6 separate regions of the Homo sapiens genome follow, and all the other regions are linked to region 3. The links are contacts of gene promoters, found by promoter capture Hi-C in blood cells and fetal thymus (Javierre and others, 2016). All regions are on one chromosome and are shown on one strand. Each heading gives the region's core, a stretch centred on a gene start or on the middle of the fragment in contact. The rest is flanking DNA. Distances are from core to core; before and after follow the strand shown.

What was found. The method cuts DNA at HindIII sites, captures the fragments that hold promoters and counts their contacts. A CHiCAGO score of 5 or more calls a contact.
Region 1: a contact is called between a fragment that was not itself captured here and the fragment with the promoter of POMP in region 3, in 7 of 17 cell types (M1 macrophages, monocytes, M0 macrophages and 4 more). The highest score is 9.8, in M1 macrophages.
Region 2: a contact is called between a fragment that was not itself captured here and the fragment with the promoter of POMP in region 3, in 10 of 17 cell types (M1 macrophages, megakaryocytes, M0 macrophages and 7 more). The highest score is 16.6, in M1 macrophages.
Region 4: a contact is called between a fragment that was not itself captured here and the fragment with the promoter of POMP in region 3, in 4 of 17 cell types (M2 macrophages, monocytes, M1 macrophages and 1 more). The highest score is 7.0, in M2 macrophages.
Region 5: a contact is called between a fragment that was not itself captured here and the fragment with the promoter of POMP in region 3, in 7 of 17 cell types (M2 macrophages, monocytes, M0 macrophages and 4 more). The highest score is 14.2, in M2 macrophages.
Region 6: a contact is called between a fragment that was not itself captured here and the fragment with the promoter of POMP in region 3, in 11 of 17 cell types (M1 macrophages, monocytes, M0 macrophages and 8 more). The highest score is 15.1, in M1 macrophages.

What each region holds. Positions count from the first base shown.
Region 1 is chr13:28,357,469-28,360,168 of GRCh38, forward strand. It overlaps FLT1 (fms related receptor tyrosine kinase 1), which reads right to left. Exons shown (of 30, transcript NM_002019.4): 15 at 86-217. Among named protein-coding and RNA genes, the nearest start is that of FLT1, 140 kb to the right of the region's middle. RefSeq lists an enhancer at 689-998. The HindIII fragment of the contact is 558 bases long and covers 1,091-1,648 here.
Region 2 is chr13:28,315,185-28,317,884 of GRCh38, forward strand. It overlaps FLT1 (fms related receptor tyrosine kinase 1), which reads right to left. Exons shown (of 30, transcript NM_002019.4): 25 at 2,314-2,413. The region is part of intron 2 of LOC124903141 (a long non-coding RNA gene); the gene reads left to right. Among named protein-coding and RNA genes, the nearest start is that of PAN3-AS1, 180 kb to the left of the region's middle. The HindIII fragment of the contact is 8,639 bases long and covers 1-2,700 here.
Region 3 is chr13:28,657,813-28,660,512 of GRCh38, forward strand. It overlaps POMP (proteasome maturation protein), which reads left to right and starts at 1,318. Exons shown (of 6, transcript NM_015932.6): 1 at 1,318-1,375. The coding sequence starts at 1,373. RefSeq lists an enhancer at 811-970 and a silencer at 1,191-1,250. The HindIII fragment of the contact is 5,788 bases long and covers 1-2,700 here.
Region 4 is chr13:28,374,053-28,376,752 of GRCh38, forward strand. All of the region lies in intron 14 of FLT1 (fms related receptor tyrosine kinase 1), which reads right to left. Among named protein-coding and RNA genes, the nearest start is that of FLT1, 120 kb to the right of the region's middle. The HindIII fragment of the contact is 548 bases long and covers 1,041-1,588 here.
Region 5 is chr13:28,396,282-28,398,981 of GRCh38, forward strand. FLT1 (fms related receptor tyrosine kinase 1) reads right to left here. Exons shown (of 30, transcript NM_002019.4): 12 at 679-787. Among named protein-coding and RNA genes, the nearest start is that of FLT1, 97 kb to the right of the region's middle. The HindIII fragment of the contact is 1,120 bases long and covers 691-1,810 here.
Region 6 is chr13:28,333,395-28,336,094 of GRCh38, forward strand. FLT1 (fms related receptor tyrosine kinase 1) reads right to left here. Exons shown (of 30, transcript NM_002019.4): 18 at 631-735. Among named protein-coding and RNA genes, the nearest start is that of FLT1, 160 kb to the right of the region's middle. The HindIII fragment of the contact is 1,547 bases long and covers 532-2,078 here.

The sequences.
Region 1 (2,700 bases), core at 120-2,619, 300 kb before region 3:
CAGGAGACTGGGAGGTGGAAAGTTAAACAAACAGGGAAATAGATGTCTGACCAATTTCTTGTTGCTTTCTTAAGCAGCTGTTTACCTTGAACAGTGAGGTATGCTGAACTTTCCACAGAGCCCTTCTGGTTGGTGGCTTTGCAGTGATAGACACCTTCATCCTCTTCTGTGACTCTTTCAATAAACAGCGTGCTGCTTCCTGGTCCTAAAATAATTCCTGAGGGGTGAGAGATGTTTAGATTAGTGGGCCTGGATGACAAACAAAAAACAGCTACTTCTGTAACACAGCCTTCTTCCTATCATTATGCATTCAGACAAGGAAATCCGAGCTCTAGTGAACCTGGGGCAGGGTTGCTTATTTGTTTTCTCTGGGTCCAGGCTTTCTTTTTCTTTTCTTTCCTTTTTTTTTTTTTTTTTTTTTCTGCAGGCTTTCTAATAGCACCTTCACCACCCAGCAGAGCTGTGATCCCCAGCTTCGGAGATGCAAATCCACCCACCCTGTAGAAAGAAATGTGAGGCAGCTGCCATGCCCAACTTGAAAGTTGAAGATATCAAGAAGGCAGCATATCTAATAATAACAACTATCATTGACTCAACGCCCTCTGTGTGCTCGGCACTATGTGACACACTTTCATACCTTGACATTTACAACCAGCCTGTCAGCTAATATTGTCTTCCTTTTACAAATGAGGAAACTGAGATTCTGTGAGATTAAGTAACTTCACCAAGAGCATGCAGTTTGACTGAAAGCACATTTGTGACATATGGGTCAAAGGAACTAATATTTCATTTGTCATAAGGCCTGGTGAGTCAATATAGCCTAGTGATGAAGAGTTTGCCTGGGCTGTGTTTTAATCCATGCCTTAGCGCTTCAAGCTTTGTCACTTAGGCAAGTTACTTGATCTTTCTAAGTTTCAGTTTCCTTAATCTTAAGATAAAAATGAAAGTAATTCTTACTCTATAGTAAATGGCAAGCCCATGGTACATAGTAAGTGCTCAGTAAATGTAAGCTTAAGGATTACTACAGAGCACAGTGTAGTGGAAGGAGTCCCAAGAATTTTCAGACCCCTGAAAGGCTTCAAGACCTTGAAGCTTCAATACCTTGTACTATCACCAAGGGTCTGTTGAGTATTTACTCTGCCATCAGTTCGTGTTACAAAACAAACAGCAGGCTAAGATGTGGGCAGGCTAAGACATGGTATCTGTTGAGAAGGAAAAATTAATTCCTACCAAACACACACATTTACATTCTCTCTCTCCCACACATGCTCAACACATACACTCACACACACAAGCCAACAAATAGAAAATGTTTAATGAATGAGAATGAGTGAATACAGCACAGTATACCTAATTAAGTGGAAGGTCTGGCACAGGGAAGGAGATCAGTAAGGAAGGGTGTACTTGGGGAAGGCTGCATAGAAGAGGTGGGCCTCGAGTTGAGGTCTGAAGGATTGTCAGAGGTGAAATGAGAAACGGAAGCATGAGAAATGGCATGATGTGGAAATAAACAGGAATTGAGTACTTGTTCCAGAATAGTGATAAAACAGGCCTGGCCAGACTATAGGCTGTATTTCATTAGTTTAAATAGTTTGTATTTCTCTTATGAAAGATGTACTCAATATAGAAAAGTTGAGAAATATTTGAAAGCTTAAAAAAAGAAAATGTAATATTATAAAGCTATGATAATCAAAACAGCATGGTACTGTTATAAAAACAGATCCATCAACCAATGGAATAGGCAAGGGCCCAGAAATCAACCCAAACATCTATGGTCAACTGATTTTTGACAAGGTGCCAAGAACACACAATGGGGAAAGGACAGTCTCCTTAATAAGTGGTGTTGGGAAAACTGGATATCTACATACAGAAAAATGAAAATGGACCCTTCTCTCATCCCTTATATAAAAATGAACTCAATATGGATTAAAAACTTAAATGTAAGACCAGAAACTATAAAACTACTAGAAGAAAATGTGGGGGAAAAACTCCACGATATTGGTCTGGGAAGAGATTTCTTGGATATGACCCCAAAAGCACAGGCAACGAAAGCAAAAATAGGCAAATGGGATTGCATCAAACTAAAAACCTTTTGCACAGCAAAGGAAACAATTAATAGAGTGAAGAGACAACCTACAGATTGGGAAAAAGTATTTGCAAATCATACATCAGATAAGGAGCCAATATCCAAAATATACAAGGAACTCAAACTACTCAATAACAAGGAAACCAATAATCCTATTTAAAAATGGGCAAAGAAATCAAATAGACATTTTTCAAAAGAAGACAGATGGCCAACAGTTATATGAAAAAAATACTCACCATCTCCAATCACAAAAATGTAAATCAAAACCAAATGAGGCCAGGTGCAGTGGCTCATGCCTGTAATCCCAGCACTTTGGGAGGCCGAGGTGGGCAGATCATCTGAGGTCAAGAGTTCAAGACCAGCCTCGCCAACATGATGAAACCCAGTCTCTACTAAAAATACAAAAATTAGCGGGGTGTGGTGGCGAATGCCTGTAATCCTAACTACTTGGGAGGCTGCAGCAGGAGAATCACTTGAACTGGGGAGGCAGAGGTTGCAGTGAGCGAGATCGTGCCACTGCACTCCGGCCTGGGTGACAGAGCGAGACTTTGTCTCAAAAAACAAGAAAAAAACCAAATGAGATAGCACCTCACACCTATTAGATTAGCTATTAT
Region 2 (2,700 bases), core at 88-2,587, 340 kb before region 3:
ATTAATGCTTAAAATAGTGGCACTTATAAGCACCAAATAACTATTTAATCAGTACTATTCAATACTGTTATAATAAAAACTAATTTCAGGCCAGGCATGGAGGCTCACGCCTGTAATCCCAACACTTTGGGAGGCCAAGGCCAGTGGATCACTTGAGCTCAGGAGTTCGAGACCAGCCTGGCCAACATGGAGAAACCCCATCTCTACAAAAAAATATAAAAATTAGCCAGGCGTGGTGGCACATGCCTGTAGTCCCAGCAACTCAGTAGGCTGAGGAAAAAGAATGACTTGAACTCAGGAGGTGGAGGTTGCAGTGAGCTGAGATCACGCCACTGCACTCTAGCCTGGACAACAGAGCGAGACACTATCTCAAAAAAACAAACAAAAAAACCCAACTAAACTAATTTCATACTATTTAGAATTTATATGGAAGTAAAAATAAAACTTAATTTCATACTGTTTTGCATTTATTTTGATGTAAAAATATTGTTATTTAATAATAACAACTATTAGTGTAATTGAGAACTTTCTCGAGATTTTCAGACTATATGAAGATTGGAAGGACATATTTAATTCAAAGCATGAGTGGCCATATCAGAGAAGCATTTCTACTGAGGAACGTGGGGTCTGTTCCTAATTCATCAGCCGTGGTCTAGGGACATCAGTCCAGAGGCTTGGGTTCTAAATGTCTCCTTTGCTTCTCAGCTGACAGACGGCACATTGCTTCAGTTCTCGGCATCTCAGTTTCATTACTTGCTAAATTCAGATTACAATAGCTGCCCTGACCACCCCTCAAGGTCTCTGGGAACTTCAAATGAGACTATGTGTGGGAAAACACTTAGAAAATCATAAAGTTAATCATCTAGCTCTATCCCCAGCTCTCAGAAACAGGCCTTGCCTCAGCTCCCTGTACTTTTCTGATGAGGACACCACGCACCAGTGACAAGAACAGGTCCCCTCCCGCTTCCCTACGCTCAGGCAGAGCTCCCCAGCCCTGCTGTTGGGCCTGAGTCTCCTGTCCACCTCGTCCAGTTCCCCATCCTGGGTCTGACCTACCCTTACCCCGAGATGATGAAGGAAAGAGACAGTGACTTTGCCCTTTGGCCAAGCCCACACTTCCTGCATTCCCTCTGATTCCTTCTGAAAGGCCAGCCAGGGCTTCTGACAGGACCCCATTGTGTGGGTGGAATGGGAGGGCCCCTGCCAGTTCAGGAAAGGTGGTGCCGCCTCAGGGAGGCCCAAGTCCTTGTCAGCAGCTCCACAAAAGTGCAAGTGTCATCACATTCCTGCTCAGGCCTCAAAGTGCAAAACATCCACAAAGCCCCAGGAAAAAAAGTGTCCAAGACAGGCAAGCAAGTGCAATTTGCACAGTGGAGAAAGCCTCACATGGACACCCGAAAAGCCATCTGACCAGGCAGCTTCAGACAGCTGCTGGGCCTATTCCTAAAAGGTTCTTTTTTTTTTTTTTTTTTGAGACATAATCTCACTCTGTCACCCAGGTTGGAGTGCAGTGGCGTGATCTTGGCTCACTGCAATCTCCGCTTCATAGGCTCAAGTGATTCTCATGCCTCAGCCTCCCAAGTAGCTGCCACCAGGCCCGGCTAACTTTTGTATTTTTAGTAGAGACGGGGTTTCACCATGTCGGCCAGGCTAGTCTCGAACTCCTGACCTCAAGTGATCCGCCCGCCTCTGCCTCCCAAAGTGCTGGGATTACACATGTGAGCCACTGCGCCCGGCCCCTATTCCTCCCAAAGGATTCTAAAGAAGTTGTATTGCCCACAAAGCCTTCTGTGAAGCATAATCATGACATCAGGAAGTTCCCCTTTTCCTCTCCAAGACCTGTTCTGCAGACCACATCAACCCCCTCACGGGTGTTCTGTGCAGACACAGGACTGGTCACAAGACCAAGGTCTAGCCCTCCATCCCTGGGGCTGCTAGGCCTGTTTGGCTCCCACTCCGTGAGTGAGGCCAAGGTCTTGCATTCAGTTCCTGGGTGGTCTGTTTGTTTTGCCTGGATTCATACCTAGAAACTGAATTTCTAACTTCAGTTCCCAGCTAGAGCCCTTGAAAAGTCATGTCAGTGGTCAGGACAGGAAATAGGTAGGGATGGGTCAAGGGCCACGTGCCCCACTGCAAGAAAACACTCCCAGCATATCTGGGCCTGATGGGCTGAGGGGAGCATCTCTAAAGGAAAGAAGAACCTTGGCATCTTCCAAGACTGGGACTCTAAGAATCCATAAAACATCCCCTCTCAGGAATGCCCTGGTGAAAAGCGAGCTGTCAGATGGGGAGCAGAGGGCACCAAGGGCTCACATTTCAGGAGTAGAGTACTCAGGAGCTCTCATCCTCATGCCTTCCCTCAGGCGACTGCAAAAGTCCTCATCCATTTGTACTCCTGGGTATGGAGACCCACCTGCGGGAGACAATGTGGAAAACACAGGGCCTGTTATGGCTTAAGGGTACAAAAGACCAAGAGGGGACAATTCAGTGTTTCTTTCCTCCCTTTAAAGCTACGTTTTAGTAATAAATTCCCAGGGATTACAACAGATCTCAACATACCGTACAACACACAGAGAAGCTCAGCAAATCCTTGCTAAGGACACCCGCTTGGTTGGGTGGTCACATGGTGCGGGGCACCTGGTGCTCACAGGCTATTCCTATGGCTACTTCTGCCTGTGTGGTCAGAGGAAGGGGTGTCGT
Region 3 (2,700 bases), core at 68-2,567:
TACATAACATATATGGCCTTATCATTTTCCTCTCTCAAATCCTTCGATGGCTTTTTAAAGACAAAGCCTCATCCTTAATCTTGCCTACAAAGGCTGCATAAAAAACCTGTAGCTAGGTCCCATGATGCACGCCTGTAGTTCCCATTACTCAGCCGGCTGCAGCAGGAGAATCGCTTGAGCCCAGGAGTTCAACGCAGACCTGGGCAACATAGCTAAACCCTATCATTATTTAGAACAAACAAACAAAAACAACAACAAAAACCACTTGCCTCCATCTACTTACAACCTCATCTCACAGTACTCTCCACTTTACTTTCTGAACTTTAGCCAGACTTAGGCCTTCTTTCCAGTTCCGTTTTTGCACAAGCAGATCTGCACGTAATGTTGTTTTAAATATCCTACTACCCCAAACTAGTTCGCTCTTATCTTTTAGCTGTCAGTCCAAAGATTCCCTAAGATGTCTCCATCCTGTGGCAGCAGACTATAAGGCCGTTTTATTACATTATATTTGAACAATACAGAATAGTGTAATGAGCATGGATTCTAGACTCATAAATATGTCCTTAGGCATATTTATTTAAGCCCTTCATGTCTCGGTTTCTTCACCTGTAAATTGTACTTGTAAGGTTATTGAAAAGATTAAAAGAGATAAAGGATGTAAGCACTTAGAACTGTGTTGATAACGCAATTCAAAGGGCCCAACATATGTCGGTCATGATCACATTTACTTAATTTGTAGTCACTATCGTCCCCTCTCTCCCCTCTAGCCTCCGGAGTACCCCTGCTCCTCTAGCCCAGAGGCCACACCGGCCTGGTCCTTTTTTGTATTCCTAGCCTCAGCACAGGGTTCGGAACATACCAGGCCTTCAATATTATGTTTTTTAAAAATGACAAAAGCCTTGTGTCCCAATTTTGCTTTATTAGCCGAACGATCTCAAGCAAATCACTCAAACCACCTACGCCTCGTTTACCCTTCTGTGAAATGTAATAGCTACCTCAGAGAGGTTTTGTGTTAAATAAGGCGATGTACCTACAAAAGCACACTGCACATCTTAAAATGCCGTACAAACCGTAGATGTTTATTAATAAACCGGAGTCCGTGTCTTCCCTCCCCTCAGGCACGTCTCGTCCCGACCCCTCCCTCCTCCCAGCCCACACCCTTACTGCGCCCTTGGCCCTGGGTCCCTTGGGATTGCAAGCGTGGGAGCCTCGGCCCCGCGCAGCTCCCTCCGGCGTCCCGCGCCCTCCTTCCTTCCTCGCCAGGACGGACGCACTTCCGGCGGATGTGGGGGCCAGCCCTCGGAAACGGAAGTGAGCGGCGGGGTCGACTGACGGTAACGGGGCAGAGAGGCTGTTCGCAGAGCTGCGGAAGATGGTGAGTGGGTACCCGGGCGGCTGGAGTTCCACGCGGGCTCGGGACCGTGGCTCGGCAGAAACAGGCAGTCGCCTCCCAACCCGTCCCCGGTGGCGGCGGCGGCGGCAGCGTGGGGCTGAGGCCGGCCTCAGGCGCCATAATCTGTCGAGTCACGGGGTTTGGGTGGGTCGTGACTGTCGCCGGGGCCCGGCACTAGTCCCACTAGCAGTGCTTCGGCTTCATCCTGCTCCTCTTAGCTCGGTTTGCGCCCTTCCATCCCTTAGACCCCAGCAGGCCCAGACCTCCTCCCCTTACTTGGCGCAGAAGTGGAAAAGGCAGCCGTGAAAGTGCAACGTTCTGTGGGGTGGCGCTGGCGACCCTTTCCTTGACGGGTAACCTCTGGGAGCCCAGAGCTCTCAGACTCCTCATCTCCCCCAGCCCCCGCCCTTGTAACTGCCTAGTAAACAGCCCACAACTATAGGTCGCATTTGTGTAACGCAGCTTTGCTCTACAAACTTTTTTGAGAGCTTGTAGTGTGCTAGATGTTAGAGGGGAAAAAATCAGACAGTTGCTATTCCCTGTTTGCCAGTATTGTTAGTATATCTCCTCCCTCCTTCTCCTCCCCACCACTTTCTCTTTCTTTTTAACTTAGAAGTTGTGGTATTTGAGAAGAACACTGAGTCACCATTGCCACAGACTCTGATATCGGTACTGCTGGTAGGCCATCCATCCAAATCTAGAAAGTTTCTATTGGTAAATACTGCTAATCGTTATCTAAAAAGTTTTTTAGGCACTCTCAAATGTAACTAGTAGTTAGGTTTTCGTAGATTTGCCTTTCTCGGCTCCTTCCTTTATTAGAAACAGCAAGTACTAATCTTGATATTTTACAGAAGGAAATTGGGAAAAATGACAATAACAGAATCCAGAAGTCAGAATTCACCTTTTCTTTGTGCGTTGAAACCTTGTTACTTTACAATAAAGCAGTCCAGAAGGAGGAGAATGTTCATATAGGGAAGTAATAGAAGATACATTTGGAAAGCAACAATCACACATCTCTGCTGAAGGTCCCCAACTTCTGGTGGTTCAACAATCTTCTGACTTTATGATGGTGTGAAATCCATACACAGTCAGTAGAGGCCATATTTGAGTACCAATACAGCCATTCTGTTTTTCACTTTCAGTACAGTATTCAATAAATTACATGAGATACCCAGTACTTTTTAATAAAGTAGGCTTTGTATTAGATGATTTTGGCCGACTGTAGGCTAGTGTAAGTGTTCTGAGCACATTTAAGGTAGGCTAGGCTAAGGCCTGATGTTTAGTAGGTTAGGTGTGTTAAATGTGTT
Region 4 (2,700 bases), core at 65-2,564, 280 kb before region 3:
GGGCATGGGATTTCCGATTGGGGTTATGAAAAAGTTCTGTAACTAGATAGTGGTGATGGTTTTGCAACATTGTAAATGTACTTAGTGCCACTTAATTGTACACTTTAAAATGGTTAAAATGATAAAATTTATGTTATGTGCATTTTGCCACAATTTAAAAAAATGAGGCCTGGGCAACATAGAAAGACCACCATCTCTACAAAAGAAAAAAAAATAGCTGGGTATGGTGGCATGTGACTATAGTCCCAGCTATGCAGGAGGCTGAGGTGAGAGGATCACCTGAGCCCGGGAGGTTGAGGCTGCAGTGAGCCACGATCATGTCACTGCACTCCAGCCTGGGAAACAGAGCAAGACCATGTCTCAAAAAACAAACAAAAAACAAAACAAAATATAAAGAAAAAACCCAAAAAAACCCTTTTTCTAAAGTGATGCCCACATTTACAAGTTCTCTCCTATTTCTTTTCTTTTTTTTTTATTGAGATGGAGTCTCGCTCTGTCGCCCAGGCTGGAGTACAGTGGCGCGATCTTGGCTCACTGCAACCTCCACCTCCCAGGTTCATGCCATTCTCCTGCCTCAGCCTCCCGAGTAGCTGCGACTACAGGCGCCCACTACCATGCCCAGCTAATTTTTTCTGTATTTTTAGTAGAGACAGGGTTTCACCGTGTTAGCCAGGATGGTCTCGATCTCCTGACCTTGTGATCCGCCCACCTCGGCCTCCCAAAGTGCTGAGATTACAGTTGTGAGCCACCGTGCCCGGCCCTCCTATTTCTTATGTCCTAAATTTTTCATTTAAAAATTTAATAGGACCTAACACACACAAACAAACACACACACACCCCACCACCACTACCACCACCACTAAACTTAAACAACTAGCAGGGGGCCCTGCTATTCATACGAATAGATGTTTGTGTTGACCAATGCATGATCCCTCAGTTGGACCTTACTGTGGCCAGCAGCTTTCAGGAGGCTTTTCTGGGCTGAATAGAGATGAGGATGTTATGCTGTAAAATGCATCCAGGAAATTTTCTTTAGGCAAAGCTTTAGGATAGGATATATTGCTATGTATGTGTGTGTATACCTATGCATGTAGGTGCAAGACCTAAATCACCTGAATCTTGCCAATAAAAAGAGATACTTTGGGGCTGACTGATTCTTCATAAATAGCTTCTATTGCTTTCCAATTCAAAATGGAACTTTACTCATGGATTACTTTACTTTTCTGAATATAAATTATAGAACTCTACCACTGTACTTTTCAATCTCATTGAACTAGCCAAACATTAACAAGTAATTGCAGAATTGCAGAAAGCGCATAAAGCAACATTTTCAATTTTTTTTTTTTTGCCATGATAGGGCTGTGTTAAAGTCAGGTTCCCTCTGTTGGCTGAGATGAGTGTTGTAGGTCTGAACTTTGGCAATGTCAACAGGTTAGTTTTCGCATGCTGTTACCCCACTACCTCTCTTACTTCATTACTCTCCTTTCTTCTACCTCCTAAAAGAACTTTATCCTTGGAAAAGAACTGAGCCTTGATTCTGCAACATAGTCCTGGCAGGGAAGAAGAGCTACTTGCATATCAGCAGTGAAGCTTGGTTTTCCTTGATCTGGATGTAGAGAGCCCCTGACCTTAATGACACATATTGAAGAGACAGGGCTAGCGAGAACAGCTGCTTAGCTAATCACACCAGCAGATCAGCTCTGGTCTCAGGGGTGCTAAGTAGAGCAGCCAGCTCACCCTCACAGGCACTGCTCTGCGCACACCCTGGATATCTTGTTCACATTTCTTTTCTGCAATAATAGTTCTTCATTCATTGTGTACCGTAAGGATAGATTTCATGAGAAGGAAAAGGCAACTACAACTCAAGTTTTGCAAAAGATATTTGACATTTCTGAATTTCATTAAGGAATTTGATTAAGGAATCAAGCAAAACTGCTGATTCTAGTAGCCTGAGCGTGACAGATGGTCAGTTTTTCATCCCTGGGTATTAACAGCCTCATTCCTCTCTCTCTTCTAAGGTTCCTTAAGATCTTTCCTGGATCTAGTCAAATCACTTGATAATTCAGAGGTGATTCTGTCCTCTTAGGTACTAGGATCTGAATATGGTGCCTACAGATGCAGACATTTGGTGTCAGTGATATAGTGTGACAGGAAAGATGTCCTCTAACAGTTAGATAAACACTTAGTCCTAGTGATCAAGAAGATTTCATTTAAGAAGGAGTATTAATCATTGGGTTAGAGTGATTCTCTCCTGCTCCACCCTCAGTCTGTTTAAGACAGAATTTACTCTTTCTGAACTCTTTGTTGTTCTAATACTACTGCTTTAACCTTAAAATATTCTAAAAATGTTTTGCTATCATAAAAATTTAGCTTAAATAATAGTTTGATGATGGTTTATTGGTTCAGGCAGGCTTTACTAAGAACATCTAAGATCAAGATTGCCTTCTGTTTTCTCAAATATTTCCAGAGAGGGAGGGTTTGTTACTTTTTTCAGCCTTTTAATGACTCTTTCAGAGCACAATCACTTGTGAGATGGTTTGTGCCTGTGTCAGTGCAAACCTAAACTAGATAGGCCTTCTGCCATATATTCTTGGCCAACTTATGTTACTTCCTTACAGTGCCACTGTGAAGAGGGTTGCCAGTAGCCCCTCTTGCAGCACCTGCTCAGCAATGTCATAACTTGAAATATTTTACGACCTC
Region 5 (2,700 bases), core at 1-2,500, 260 kb before region 3:
CCATGTTTCCTCAGAAATTGGGGGAGTGTGGAGCCAGGCAATTGTTTTTATACTTTGAGCTACTTACTTCCTTCCTGTACCCATTGAGGGACATAGGGAGTGCCATTTGTGTACCTTGGAGGTTTTTAAGATTTGCAGAGACCATCATATTTAAGGCTAAAAATTCTTAAATGCTATCAAAAAATAGCACATTAACTATTGTTAATAAAGCTCTGTTTCAGATTGCTACAGAGCCTCATTCCCCAAAAAGTCTAAATTACCTAAGTTGTAAAAAAATTAACCTTTTGGTTAAAACAAAAACAAAACCAAAAACGATGTCATCATATTATATGCATTATAATTGGTTTCCTTGATTGGTATTGAACTGCTATGTACCAGACCCTGTGCTAGGTACTGAAGGGAATGAAAAAATGAGCATACAAGATTCCCAATTCATAATCCAGTCTGGGAGGGAGACAAACACAAATAACTCTAAAAGAGAATACAGGGAAATAACTCCTTACGAGATCCGATGAGGTAGAATTCTATTCCTGAGAGCAAGGATGAAGGCACTCAAAGTTTGACAATTCTATGGAATTAAAAAAAAATCACTCAAGCTATAAATGCACTAAAAGCAAACAAGACTGAAGAGAGAATGAAGTCACCAGGCTGTCTCTGGTTATAGGATGTGTGGCTTACCTGTGATATAAAAGCTTATGTTTCTTCCCACAGTCCCAACTTTATTGGAAGCTATGCAAATGTAGATTCCAGAAATTCTAGAGTCAGCCACAACCAAGGTGCTAGCCATCTGCAAAAGAAAAGGAAACTTTAGCTAGCAACAGGACAAATAACTAATTGAACACCCCAAGCTACTTCTGAGGTTGAAATGATTCAGCTACTCCATTCATTCTGCAAAGAGAGTATTGCATAGGTGGTGGTTACCAGAAGGCTCTCCCCTTGCCGAGCCCCAACAAGAATGGAAAAATAACAGGAAAGCAGGTCCTCAGGAGACCGGGGCCTATGACATCCGACTCATATGAGGGTTTCAGGCTTATTTATCTCGTGCTGCTGGCGTAACAATTACAGACCTGAAGCTGAGATGTGGGACTGCACGTCCTACCCTATGAGGTGGTCAGTTCCACATCAATGAGAGGAACAGGTGAGGCTGAGGCCTTCCCTTTTGTTTGGGTGACCTGAGAGCATAGATGCCAGTTATAACAGGAGCCTTCTCTGCTGTTTGGTTCTATAACAGGCATGTTAAGTGAGCAAGGACAGAAGATAATGTTTGGCTGAAACTTTTTTTTTTTTAAGAAATGGGGTCTTGCTATGTTGCCCAGGCTGGCCTTGAACTTCTGGGCTCAAGCAGTTTTCCCGCTTTTGTCTCCCAAGTAGCTGGGACAACAGGCACATGCCACTGTACCTGGCTTGAAACTTTTTTTCTATGCTCAAATAATGTGGCATGCAGCACTGGATGGTCCTGAAGGAGACCGTGTGTGTGTGTGTGTGTGTGTGTGTGTGTGTGTGTGTGTGTGTAAATTACCTAATTTCTCTTAATAAATTAAGTATCTATTCCTAATCTAGAAGATGAAAATTTAAATTATGAATTAATGCAATTATATTGTTCCACTAGACTTTAGTGCTATTATTTGACAACTTAGTCCCTAAAGAAACATTAGCAGTCAAAATTGCATGAACTTGAAAGCACTTTCCAAATTCTGATGTCTAAAAAGTAATGAAACAAAATTTTAGACAACTTAAAGACTTGCATTCTTCCAAAGAAAAAAAATTGGCAATATGAAACAAATTGTTAAACATTCTTAAATTTAACCCAAGCTTGCATTAAAAAGTAGTGTATAATCTATATGAAAAAAATGAGAAAGCTAGTTTCTCATACTTAAAATTATGGAAAAGAAAAGTTAGTCCAGTTACTTATAAATCTTTGCAGCCTATGTCCTAGGACAAAAATAACTGGTTATGGGCTTTGAAATTGCAGAGGCTGTGCAAATGATTCCAGACTAATAGAGTGTCCTTGCTGAAGTATAATGACAAGTGACTTACAGGCTAAAGTAATGTAAGGCTGAAATGTGACAGCTGACTTTCCAAGGTGGTGGACATACTCTACAAGTGGTTTGGCTGTAGGAGAGAGTCCTAACATTTTCTTGAGTTTCTAAGTAATGTGCTAGGCACTTTAGTTGTGTTCTCTTATCCCATCTAATAAATTAAGGTATTTCTGTCTTTAATCTACAGATCAGGAAGACTTAAACACATGTTCCTCATGTTTTTAGCCAGCAAATTCATTGGTCCAAATTCTCTACAATTTTCACTGTGGTATAGTGAGTAGTACACAGTGCTTTCTCTTCTGTTTGTTGGAAGGATCTGCTTAATTACACCTACCCATATACTCCCTGTGTATTATTGAAATTATTGGTAATGAAAGTGTCTGCAATATGTGGCAGACAATTTAGCAGACATTTATTGAGTGATTATCAAGGCATTGCCCAGATGTTGTAAGAGAGACAGAGATGAATATGACACAATCCCTCCCTTAACATTATCATTCTTTAAGGTGATAGAGAAGAATTTCCCTCCTTGAAGATCATACAAAAATTATTCTCTCTTTTGCAAGGAAAGCGCATATGAAGGCAAATAATCCATGGGAAAGTGTACGAAAGAGAGCTCAGGTGTCCCTTTTCTTATTTTGATGATGAATCTTTTTAAGAG
Region 6 (2,700 bases), core at 55-2,554, 320 kb before region 3:
TCACTGATTTTCATTTTCAATCTGTCTTTGGTGTTGGGCATAAGTCACTGTGTGATTTGGTTCTACCTCCCAGTGCTTCACAGAGTAGTAGTATCTTTCAACACTAGAAAGATAATTCAGGTTTTTAAACTGCTAAAGAGGAAATGTTTTATGGCTGAGGTAGTTAGTATAAAATAGTTTAGAGTTCTGATCAACTCAATTGTTCTAGCTTTATAGTTTTACTTTATAGTCAGGTCAAGCCCAAGCAAAGCCATTGGGATTTAGAATGTGCTGCTAAGTTTCCATTACAACATCACAGTAGATCATGCCAAAATCTGAACCTGCAGTTACAATGGGCTTAAGTCCCTTGTTGTCTACAGTCTGTGATGTGAGATGAGAAAGACCTTTGAGGTGACAGAGATCATTTTCCTATGGACAGTGCTGGATTGTTCCATTTACAAGGTTTCTTCTGAGCTCGTGCTGGCCTAATCTAAAACTCGTGAGCAAAGAGGCCTCTAGCAGTAGAAGAAAATTATGTGTCCAGAGCAGAAAAGCTTGTGTCTGTTCCCAGGCTATATCTAACTTGTACCAACATTTAGGAAATGCAAAATGGTGATGGGTCAGTTGAAAGCCAAACTACAGCATACATACCTTTCAGCATTTTCACAGCCACAGTCCGGCACGTAGGTGATTTCTTAATGCCAAATGCTGATGCTTGAACCACTTTTCCAAAAGCCCCTCTTCCAAGTGATTTGCCTGTAATGAAGAGAAGACACTGGTTTGTTTGCCGAGGCAATAGGGTGAGTTTAAGTCTTTTTCAGGAAGGAAATGCCTTTTCCTATGTGTGCATGTGAGGCATGGAATCTCCAGTGAACTAACCCTAAAAGAGACAAAGTAAGGGACTTATTTCTGGAGTCTCTTCCTTTCAACTCTTAACTCTGTTCCTGAGGCCCCACATCCTTCAAAGATAGAGTAAGTCCCTAGAAGGCATTCAGTGAAGGTAGATGTCCAGTTTCCTTTCCACAGCGTTCTCCCGTAGGAGAGATGGGACCAAGTCCCGTGTAGTTTCTTCCATTGTTTAATAACATTATGACCAAGAAGACTTCCCTGTGTGGAACCTAAGCTCTTTTTCTTTTTCCATTTACAGTCATTTTTCTCTCATCTGTTTTCAGCAAAAAGGGAGAAATAGAAAATGGTGGTTACTACTGTGGATTATAATAATGCTCATAACTTTAAAATAATCACTAAGTCATTTATCCGACTTCCCTACCAGGCAAAATATTTCCAGTCTTTCTAATGTGTCTTAGGTGAAGATTACAAATCCTCGTGGTTCAGCACAGGAGCCTGGTCAACCACTGGTAGTGATTTGTTTCAACCCCAGAGAGGTAGTTGCTAAATGCAATAACTAAGCAAGGTTCCTTTCATGGTCCCCATAATGCTATGCTATAATGACTGTTAATATGTTTCTTTCCCTATCCTAGAATGACCCAGGGAGTCCTTGCCCCCCTTTACTCTGGGGGGCAAGGACCATGTCTGAATCTTCCCAGAACCTAACTTGGTGCCTGGTGCTATCTGTTATTACTGAATATTGCTGCAGAATGGAGAGTGGTGTTCAGGAATGTGTGGGTTGCCCAAAGCAAGTCTCCTAGTCATAGGTAACTAGAGGGGCCCATGGGATGGAGACCCTGAGATTGATGCCCTTTAGGGAGGGCACTCCCTGGAGTACCTAAGCTGCCTTTTATATCAGGGAACCTCCTTTTGCACATCAGGAAACAGCTCAATAGAACCCAGAGAAATGGTGCACCTCCAGCATGATATACCCAAAGAAGAGTAAGTGAAGTAAGTCAGTCTTTTTTTGGCTTTTCTTGGGGGAAGGGGAAATGACAGAATACCACTGGTTGGTTAAAACTATTATAAATCCTGGCAGTTAGAGTGTTAATTTAACACAACCCCTCCTTTCCCAACCAAGTGCTCTTTCTTAGACCCGTCTGATAATGTGCCTTCAGTTAATGAACCTTCTTTCCTCCCTTCCTTCCTCATTACTCCACTCCCTTTCCCCAAAGGGCATTTTTAAAAAATTTTCTTGTAGTTTGTAATGAAGCTTTGCTTCTTCCTCATCATATTAGAACCTTTCTACTTTTATGCCCAACTACTCAGTGACAAAAATGTCTTTACCTTGCTCTGCTTAATGTCTTCTACTACCCACCACCCCAGGTGTCCAGTTAGGATGTATGAAAATTTCACTTATACCAGTGTCATCATTAGGGCCTCTGTGTGGCTGTCTGCAGGGACATGCTCTGCATTCAGAGAGAACACTGGGGAGACGACACGTTTCTCTTTTTGTGAAACATGCTCCCGTAGTGATTACTAAATGACATTCCTCCCAGAGCATGCAACACGGGCAGAGCTACAGCCTCTGCTTCCTTCTTCGCATAAAATTGTTGAAGAAATAGACCAGGATGGGGACCCTCGATTTGAAATAAAAGAGCCTCCAGTGGATCCTGAAAGTGCTACATCTGAAAATCCGGTGTGGGAACAGCGCTGGCAGATGCCTTCTCTATACTAGTAAAAACTGGTGCATTTTGGTTGGAGGTTTATTCCTTGCTTTATTTGGGATAAAGTATCAATGTTTTTCTTCCACAATGCCTTCCACCATCTAAAAAGAAAAGTGTCCTGAGCCTGAGAAATATCCAGATCTTTTCTCCTTACACACCTAAGACC